2 separate regions of the Homo sapiens genome follow, and region 1 is linked to region 2. The links are contacts of gene promoters, found by promoter capture Hi-C in human tissues and cell types (Jung and others, 2019). All regions are on one chromosome and are shown on one strand. The core of a region is centred on a gene start or on the middle of the fragment in contact, and the rest is flanking DNA. Distances in the headings are between cores, read along the strand shown.

Region 1 (4,894 bases), core at 939-3,438, 1.5 Mb before region 2:
ATTCAAAAGGGGAGCACATTACTTTGAATTTACGGAAAGTCAGATTTTACTCTTAAAATTCCTTGAAGTATACCACAAAGTATAAGCTCTCATATCAATTCTGTGATGTGCATGTGGCTTCTGTCTTCAAGTTCAGCACGGTCACTCTTCCCTACAGAGTTAGTATAGATTGCTACTTCTTTGGACTACATAGCCCCTTCTAGCCTTCACATTTCTATAGTTGGTCTGTGTTTGGGATGGTGTTGAACAAAAATAGCATTGCTTTAGTCACTGGAGTCAAATCAGCAGGGCAAGATGTTTGTACTACCAGATCCATGAGGCAACTGAAGGCTGGTGGAGGAGCAAGGAAGGTGGGCCTTCACGTCTGTGGACTGTACTTTGGCATCACTGAGCTCTCAGCTTTGCTGAGGACAAGCCCAAGTGAGCTTGACGCTGGAGGAGTGATCATGTCTACATTCAGATGCCCCTAGCTATGCTGGTCTCAATGCATGTCAAATATTGAAGAGCGAGGATGAGGTGCTGGTGTTGAATTAGAGGAGAACAGTCAGCAGCAGAATAAATATTATTCACAAGGAGACACCGTCTGTGTTTGTCTCATGGGCCAAACAGGGGAATGGAGGAATGATTGGAGTGGTGGGAAGATTGCATAAGGCTGAATTCTAATCGGTTTAACTTACTTAAGATGTGACATTAGTGTAAAAGTAGAGAGAGAGGAACTCATATAAGTATGTCTGGGTTTGTTAGGAGGAGAGGATTTGCAGAAACAGAGGTGCATTTGGAAGAGACATGGTGGTGGAGGATTGTGCTAAGTAGGATAGGATTTTGGGCTCAGTCTTCTAGTGTGACAGGTGTCTTTGCATATGCCTGACCAGGGGATTCTCCTTTAAAGAGAAAAGTTTTAGGGAGATTAAATATGACAATTATGTGTATGCTAGTTTGGAGGGGGGCTCAAAACTAGATCCTGGGACCCCAGTTGGAGGTTGATATGATTTGGATCTGCATCATCCCCAATGTTTGGAGGTGGAGCCTGGTAGGAGGTGATTGGATCATGGAGGCAGAGTCTTCATGAATGGTTTAGCACCATCCCCTCAGTGCTCTTCTCATGATAGTGAGTGAGTTCTCACAAGATCTGGTTGTTTCAAAGTGTGTGGCGCCTCTCCCTACCCTCTCTCTTCCTCCTGCTCTGGCCATGTAAATTACTGGCTCTTTCTTTGCCTTCTGCTGTAATTGGAAGCTTCCTGAGGCCTCTCCCAAAGCAGATGCTGCCATGCTTCCTCTACAGTCTGTGGAACTGTGAGCCAATTAAACTTCTTTTCTTATAAATTACATAGTCTCAGGTATTTCTTTATAGCAATGCGACTAATACAGAGGTGGTGGCAAAAGTCTGTTGAGAGGCAATAAAAGCCTGGAAATGATGATGAAAATGAAGGGGAATGAGCACAAAGAGAGGTGTTATGAAGAATCGGTGGGCTTCACAAGCCTGAAAGCCACTGGGAAAAATGATATCAACATCACACCAACTCCAAAAGAAATGCAGACTCCCCTCTCTCTCTTTCCCTAGTCTATGTAACTGGCATCTTTTATCGGGGTTGAAGGAAATCATTAATATCCTACTTCTGATTCTTCTCCTAGTTAAAAATCAATTGAGGAAAAAAAATGTAGAATTTAGATGAAGGCAAAATATTGGATTTTCTGCTGCTAGCAGTGGACTGGAGGACACAGTTTTGAACCATTGCCACACAGGGTTTCTATCCTTTTTTCTTAAGCTGAGATGTTGGGACAACCCACCATGGGGAGAGTCTGGGTCAGTGATTGCTCTGGCCAACTGTGGGGTCCCCGATGGTGTGGACGGAGAGGCTACATGTGAAGGAGGCATGTGATGTAACCCATCTGGGGAGTAAATGTGGATTCCTCCCACTCATCCAAGCAGATGTCTGGATTCTCCACGTTTGGGAAGTAAGAAAGGGGTGGGAGGGGTCAGGAGTTGTACTCTGTGGGAAGGACACAGTAACATGCAGAAATGCAAGGAGAAGGAAACGAACTTACCTTCACATTGCTGGACATGATTAAAGGTGAGAATAGAATTGGAAATAAAATTTGTGGGCTCATTAAATAAATAACCCTGTGGGTTATTTAATGAACAGGTTTTGTTCCTTTGGAGGGCAGAAGTGAAATTGCTTACCAGCAATCCTGGGAGGAAACAGAGGATTGGTGACTGGTGTTGAAGAAGTGGCCTCATGAGGGTGTCTGGGTTAACCACCGGCGACTCCACCATGGGGACTCCACACCCTGCATTCAGTCTTAGTTGGCCACAGCCTGGATGCTTCAGCCTGTTGAACTGAGAAAACAATATCTTTGGAGTCATAAAAAAATCATTTTCTTTCTCTTTTGTTTTGTTTTGTTTTTTCTGCCTTGATCCATGAAGTAGGAATTTCCACCTTATGAAGAATGGAAGACTTGGGAGGAAAGCCCCTGTCCTTTTACCCTGTCCCTACCCTGGCTGGGAAGAAGGTCATGGGGTGTGGAGTTCAGCCCCTCTGGGTCTCTCTTTCCCAGCAACCTGTCCTCAGCACTTGTCCCCTCCTTGCCCCTCTGTCTCTTAGATTCAGTAGGGCTGCTCTGCTCTTTGGAGCTAGGGGAGGCCTGGCCTCCTTGTTGGCAAATCAGTTCTGGTCATGGGTCAAGGCAAATTCTCCAAGGCAGCCTTTTTGGAAACATAGCTGATCATTTCAGCTCTGTAGATCTGAGTCTGTCTCCTCAATGGGTTCAGAACCCGTAAGGGAAGAGGTGTGACTAATTAGCATTATCCCTTAAATTCTAACATTCTTTTTGAGGAAAAATCCTAATTTTGAGATTCTTTGGAATCATCTTTCCTTCTCCCGACCTTTCTTTTTCAAATACATTTACCAAATGGAATGACCACTGTGTGTTTGGCACTTAGGTTAAGTGTTTTGTCTTTTCTCTTAAATAGCTATGATTGGCTCTAATGCAGTGTCTAGGCAGTGTCTTGCCACAGGCAGCTCAAATGGACACATGTGCCACAGATATATAAGACACTTGTAGAACACACTTGAATTCCAGGGTGTATGAAGAACTCTGTAGGTCGTAGCAGTATATGGTCATATGAGTGTGTGTTCATGCATATACACACCTACCACATGCACACACTACCACATGCATGCACACCTACCACACATACAAACCATGCATACCCCCCACCACATGCATGAACACACACCCTATATACTTATACACCACACACAGACAACACACAACCACACACACACACACACACACACACTACCATATGCATGTACACCTACAAAGCCATACATGCATGTATGCATGTGCACATACAAACCACGCATACCTCCCCACCACATGTGTGAACACACACCATACTCATACACTGCATACAGACAACACACAGAAACACCATGTGCACACACTACCATATGCATGCACACCTACCACACATACAAACCATGCACACCCCCACATGCACATAAACACACCATATATACTCATACACTACACACAGACAACACACACAAACACAGACACACATGTATCATACATGCACCGCTGCATCACACACCCTCCAACACACCTAGACACCATGCATACACACATACCACACACAAACTACACACGTACAGACCATTCACACAAACACTCCCTACTCCATCTTACACACATGTGCATATGCACATACCACAAGCATATGGATGTAACCCCAGGGCCTCTGCAGAGAGAGCTGTGGAAAGCTCCAAGACACATTCTGTCTCCCACTCTTAATCTCTCTCTCCATCCCTCTCCTTTTCTCTCTTAATCCTGGGGTGTATATATAAAAGACTACACAAAGCACACACACAGAAACAGAGCAAACCTCTGGACTCATGGAAAAACAACTGCCAACAATCTGGGCAGCTAAGGCTTTGTGCATAACACCCTACTCCTGAGGGCCCCCTCCCCTCCCACAGGAACACACTCTGACAAAAAAGCACCTGCCCCTAAGCCAGGCGTCTTTCTTTCCTTTTGCCTTTGATTAAGTCTCACAATAAATGGCACACCAAGGGGTGCAGCATTACGGTGTCATTAAAGTGAATATTTCACAAGTGAGTATTGCCTGAACGAGATGCTTCTGATGTTTTTATTTTCATCAAATCTTTGAGGCCAGCAGATGGAAAAAAATTTTTGTAGCCAGAGCTTAAGGAGGTAGGCTTCACCAGAGAAGCAGGGTGGTCAGGCTACAGTGAGCCCTGACCCAATTTCCTTAAGAAAAGGGAAAAGAGTCAAAGTGCTCGATGTGTAATCAATAAGCAGGGCACATAGGATGAAACACACACACTCCCCCACACACACACACATGCACAGAAGGATATTTCTACCTCAGTTCTTTTTAAAGTAAAAAAATGGTGGGAATACAGTTTACTCTAAAGGAACCCTTTGAATGTGTATCATTTAGTGAATTTGGAGCTTTCCACACCAAGTGCATTTGCTAAAAATGGTCACTGCCCATAGATGAGACATCATCCCATTGCTAATGTCATTAGCAAGCAGAACAGCGGTGCCTACAAAGCTCAGAGCAGAGAAGTGATACCCGGGGGAACCACACAATGCCAAATAAATGTGAGATGATTGACTGTTTTCATCACTACCTCCGCAGCAGGGTGGGAGCCCATTTGTAAGGGGCTGCCTTGTGCCTATGGGGAGGAGGACCATCAGACAATCCTGTTGCGGTTTCTATTGTCCTCAAAGACACGTCTTCTCCAGGAACAAAGCCCTGGGTCACACCGTTTGTCCTGTAGAAACTCCTGATAAATTTTGCTTTTTAGAAAAGCCTCTTTTCTTTGATTAGCAGTAATAAAAGCTTTCCCTTCGAAATATATGC
Region 2 (4,826 bases), core at 345-2,844:
CACCAGAGTCTTGAAACATTCCTGGCACACAGCAGTTTCACAACAAATAACTACTAATAAGTAACTTCCTAATTTTTAAAAAAAGTATGATAAACTAGCATTTCTGCAGGTCAGAATCCAGTCACACCAGTTTTTCCAAAACTCTAAAATTAGCAATATGGTCAAATGAGACGCCACTAAGTCCCTATACCAATACTTGGACTACGATGCCTTCAATCATTTATTCAGAGCATACAGCTGAAACACGTAATTCTAACAAGGTGATTTCACAAACCAAGGAAGTCTAGAAAACAGAAGGCAAAGAAGCTGCTCTAGACAGGCACTTTAAAGAGCAACAGGTAGTAATGAACGATAAGTGAGAAAAAAAGATGCTCAAAAGTACATGGGAGAAAAGGAAAGGGAGAGGGCACAGAATTATACCTCCCACACCTTCCTAGTATGGAAAGTGCAAGACTACTGCACAGCATTAGTGATGTCACAGGCAGGTCCCCGAGTCACCAATACAACAGCACACCTACGTCTAGTATAAGCCATTTCAGAGGACAAGTTAAAGACAGAATTATAGAAACGTTTCATTCTCGAGACAAAAAGTTAATGTAATTCACTCATGTGCTTCCTTATGCTCCATTCATCCGATACAGTGCTACTAAAAGCCATTAAAGTCACCTGCAGAGATGTAACACAATGTTTGGATTTGGAGCCTTAAACATGTGTAACACGTGCCCCCTTGGTTCCCAAGTCAAGGAACAACTAATGAATTGCTGGAAAAGCGAGCTCTAAGCCCTGTAAACCACAACTGCAAGCTGTGTCTAACTGCATCGTAACCAGGCCTGGTGAGCTGCGGGGTGTAGTGGGTAGATCACTGAGGCCTGGGCTCAGAAAAACTGGGTTCAAACGACCTGCTCCAACTTAGGAAACACAACTCGCCGGGTGATTTAATGTTTGTTTTCGGCTCTTAAAGCGGGGCGGGGAAGAGGACCATCTGCCCACCTACCTCGGTCTTCTAAGAACTGAGCATTAAGGGAGAGACTTTACATGAGTCCCTCAAAGACGGTCCCGTCGAAAGCTAGCAGTCAGGACACAAGGCGGTAACGTCGGCCTGGGTTTAGGGACAGCGGCTACAGGAACCAATTCAACTACACCACTCAGCTGAAATGAAAGTTCTCCAACTTTCAATCACCAAAAATACACTTTACTTGCAGGACAACAGCTCAAGTGAGGCTAACCTGTAAAATGCATCCAAGTACCTGCCAAAAGAAAAGTACTTGAGGTTGACAAAAAAGGAGACAGACTTGTGGAGACGAGGCAAACTTTTCGGAGGCAGCACACCCCACAAGGCTCCGGGAGGTGCGCGACCCCGGCCCGCGCCTCCCCGGACACTTCCCAGCCCAGCGCGCCGCCGCGCCCCCGCCCAGCAACCGCTCCGGGCGCGCAAAGCCCAAGGACCGCCGCCCCGCCCTCTGAGGGGGACGGAGCGGGTCTTAGGATCGGGAGGGTGCGCGGACGCGGCGGGCGGGGGCCCGCTGACCTCAGGGCCTCCGGAACCTCACCTCTCCGCAGCAACACAACAGGGGGCCGCGGCCGGCTCCGCGCTGGGCTTCCGGCTCCCGCCTGGACTGTTAAACTTCGGCGGCCGGAAGTCCCGCCCCGAGTGACGTCACGGGGCGAGGCGCTGCGTGCGGCTGTGGCTTCTGGCCGGACAGAAGTCGGGGTACAGAGGGTCTGGTCAGGGCGGCGCTGGGCAGCCGCGGGGGAAGTTATCCCAGTGTCAGGGCGGGAACTGCGGGCCGGGGCGGCCCTCTCCACGCCCCAGCGACGGAGCTCCGGCCACTGCCAACTGCTTGTCATTCACTTGCTGTTTACTGTGTGCCAGGCACTGTGCTAGACTCTTGAGTGTACAGTGATGGTTTAGCCTGGGGATACAGGGGTACAGTGAATTCTCGTGGTCCTTGGCCTTGTGGAGCTTACAATGCACTATAGGAAGCTGACGTTATTAGATGCTTAAATGGAAAGTGAAACTATGATAATGAAAGGTATAAGATGCACGAAGACCCATAATAAGGGAAACTATTGTGGATGTGGATTTAGGAAAGGATTCCTACATGCGATTTACAAGCCAGGAAACGCGCTCAGGCTGAGAAATAACCCAAAGAGTAGGCGTCTGCACTAACCTACTTCAAAACCCATGATCTTTCTTTCGCATCATGCTGCGAGGTCCGGAACATCAAACATCATCTGTTTGGGAATTCTTTTGAAGGGGATACTTCAAGGTGGAAAAGGAAGTTGCTGAGCCGAGTTTTCAAGTGCCCCTTCCAAAGGTCCTTTTATAGCTCTACTGACAATTTTTGCTAAGAATATTTATCATAAATATAGAGCATTTCTTCTGCAAAAAGTGTTATTCTTTCATCACAACTACATGGGGTGTGTTTCTGAACTAGGTACATCAGCCCCAGTTATCTGCATTCATATTGCAGATAATTGGAAAATTCTAATAAGTGCATTTTTTCAGAGCAGAAATTGAAATCGTAGCCAAGTTACTGAGGTTCATGGGGGAGTGGCAAAAGGAGAAAGATAGCAAGCAGCAACTACCTTAATTGTACAGTCTGCAGTTCTTGAGGCTATGAAATCCAATTTGGGCAGGGAGGAGGCCCAGAAAGTTGGGAACTAAGAAAGTACGGTAAGGGAGTGGGGGCAGGGAGAATGGGAGCAAATGGAGAAAAGAAAACTTCAAACAAAAAGGGCAATTAATTAAATCTCTGAAAATTGAAGCCAGCAGGAAAATTGAGACTAGACTATATGAAAATATATATAATAATACATGTAATATAATATATACATATTATATGATATAATACTAGTTATACATATAAAAATAGATATTTATTGAACACTTTACTAAGCACTGTATTTGTGTATATAGACGTAATGTGTATGTATGCAATATATATATAATTTCATCTTTCTAAAAACACATGAAGTATGTGCTATTATTTGTCCCCATTTTACATATGAGGAAATAGAGGTTAAGTAACTTGTCCAAGGTTACAAGTTTAATAAATGGTAGATTCAGAAGTTAAACCTGGGACCATGAGACTGCAAAGACTGTCCCAGACCTTTATGCTATACAGTCAAGAGCCATAACACAGCGTATAGGGCCAAATGGAAACCTCCATTCCTCTGTCCTCACTGATGCTGCGGCCTCATCAAATCTTACTGGCCCTGAAACAGTCCTGTCATTTTTGTCCGTGCCTCTGTGCCTATGTATACACTGTTTCCTCAGTTCTGTATAATAGTTTAACGAACAATAGATGCCAAATGTTAGAAGCCTTGCTAATATATGAATTATATAAACATATACAGATTTCCAAAAGTAGCCATCACAACAAAGAATATTTCTAGAGACAAAGAGAAATATTTCATAATGATAAAATGGTAAATAACCACAAGCCATTATCAATTTTAAGTGTATAGGTGAACGTAAGAGAATTTTGAAATATATGAAGAATAAGTATCAAAGCTAAAGGAGGAAAAAAGCATACCCATAGTCATTGTTGGAGACTGACAGAATTTTCTCAGTAATTCATAGAACATCCAGATAAGAAAAACAAATCAGAAAAGATGTGGAAGATCTGTACACTTATCAACTATTTTAACTGACATTTATAGAACACTATAGCCAACTACTGCAGGATAAACATTCTTTTCAAATACACATGAAAATGGAGCATATATTGGGCTATAAAACAAGTCAATTGATTTTTAACAGAATAAATCTTACAGACAATACTCTCTGATCACAACAGTATTAAATATAAATAAAAAACAATAACACATCTAGAAAAGCCCCAAACGTGAAATAAAACAACCTTACTTCTAATAACCCATAGGTGAAGGAAAAAATCAAATCACAAATATTAATAATAACAGAAAATATTTGAACCGAGTGATAAGTAAAATACAATAAAAATTCATGGAAACAGCTAAATCAGTGCTTATATTATGAAATCAGTGTTTATATTCTGAAAAAAAGAAAAGTCCAAAATCAATGATCTATGCTCTCTCTTAAGAAACTTAGAGAACAAATTAAACACAAAGATTACAGTACAGAACAATGAAATTGAACAAAGATGAACAATAGAGAAAAATCAATGAAACCAAAAGCTGATTTTTGAAATGATTAATAAAATTGAGAAATCTCTAGCTAGACTTACCAATAAGAAAGAGAAAACACAAATTACCAATATCAAGATTGAAAGAGAAGCCATCAATACAAATCCAAAGGATATTTACAAAAATAAGGGAATAGGATAAACAACTCCATGTCAATAAATTTGGTCACAACTAAAACAAATGAATACCTTGAAAGACAAGTATTAAAACTGACACAAGAAGCAATAGATAATATGATAGCCCTATATGTACCATAAAAATTGAATTCAAAATTAAGAAAGCCATCTCACAAAGGAACCCCAGGATCAGATGGCTTTACTGTTGAATTCTATCAAACACATGAAGAAATAATTCAACATTTTAGGAAAACAGAAAAGAAGAGAATATTTGCTAAACCCATTTTTTAGAGGCAGTATTACTCTGATACTAAACCAGAAAAAGACATTATAAGAAATATCCATAATTCATATCCCTTATGCATGGAGACAAAATTATATAGATACACATATATATGCAAAGTAAATCCAGTAATTTATAAAAAGGATTATAATCAAGTGAGATTTCTTCGAGAAATCCAAGATTGGTTTAACACTCAAAAATCAATTAACATAATTCACCATATTAACAAAATGAGGGAGAAAGCCCATATAATTATA

Evidence for each region. The method cuts DNA at HindIII sites, captures the fragments that hold promoters and counts their contacts. A contact is called where the count stands out against the background at its distance.
Region 1: a contact is called between a fragment that was not itself captured here and the fragment with the promoter of NEDD1 in region 2, in 1 of the 25 tissues and cell types used here (dorsolateral prefrontal cortex).

Annotation. Positions count from the first base shown.
Region 1 is chr12:98,359,813-98,364,706 of GRCh38, reverse strand. No RefSeq gene overlaps it. Among named protein-coding and RNA genes, the nearest start is that of TRD-GTC1-1, 140 kb to the left of the region's middle. The HindIII fragment of the contact is 6,943 bases long and covers 1-4,894 here.
Region 2 is chr12:96,904,025-96,908,850 of GRCh38, reverse strand. It overlaps NEDD1 (NEDD1 gamma-tubulin ring complex targeting factor), which reads right to left and starts at 1,594. Exons shown (of 16, transcript NM_152905.4): 1 at 1,551-1,594; 2 at 995-1,247. RefSeq lists enhancers at 772-911, 952-1,041 and a silencer at 1,282-1,561. The HindIII fragment of the contact is 14,202 bases long and covers 1-4,826 here.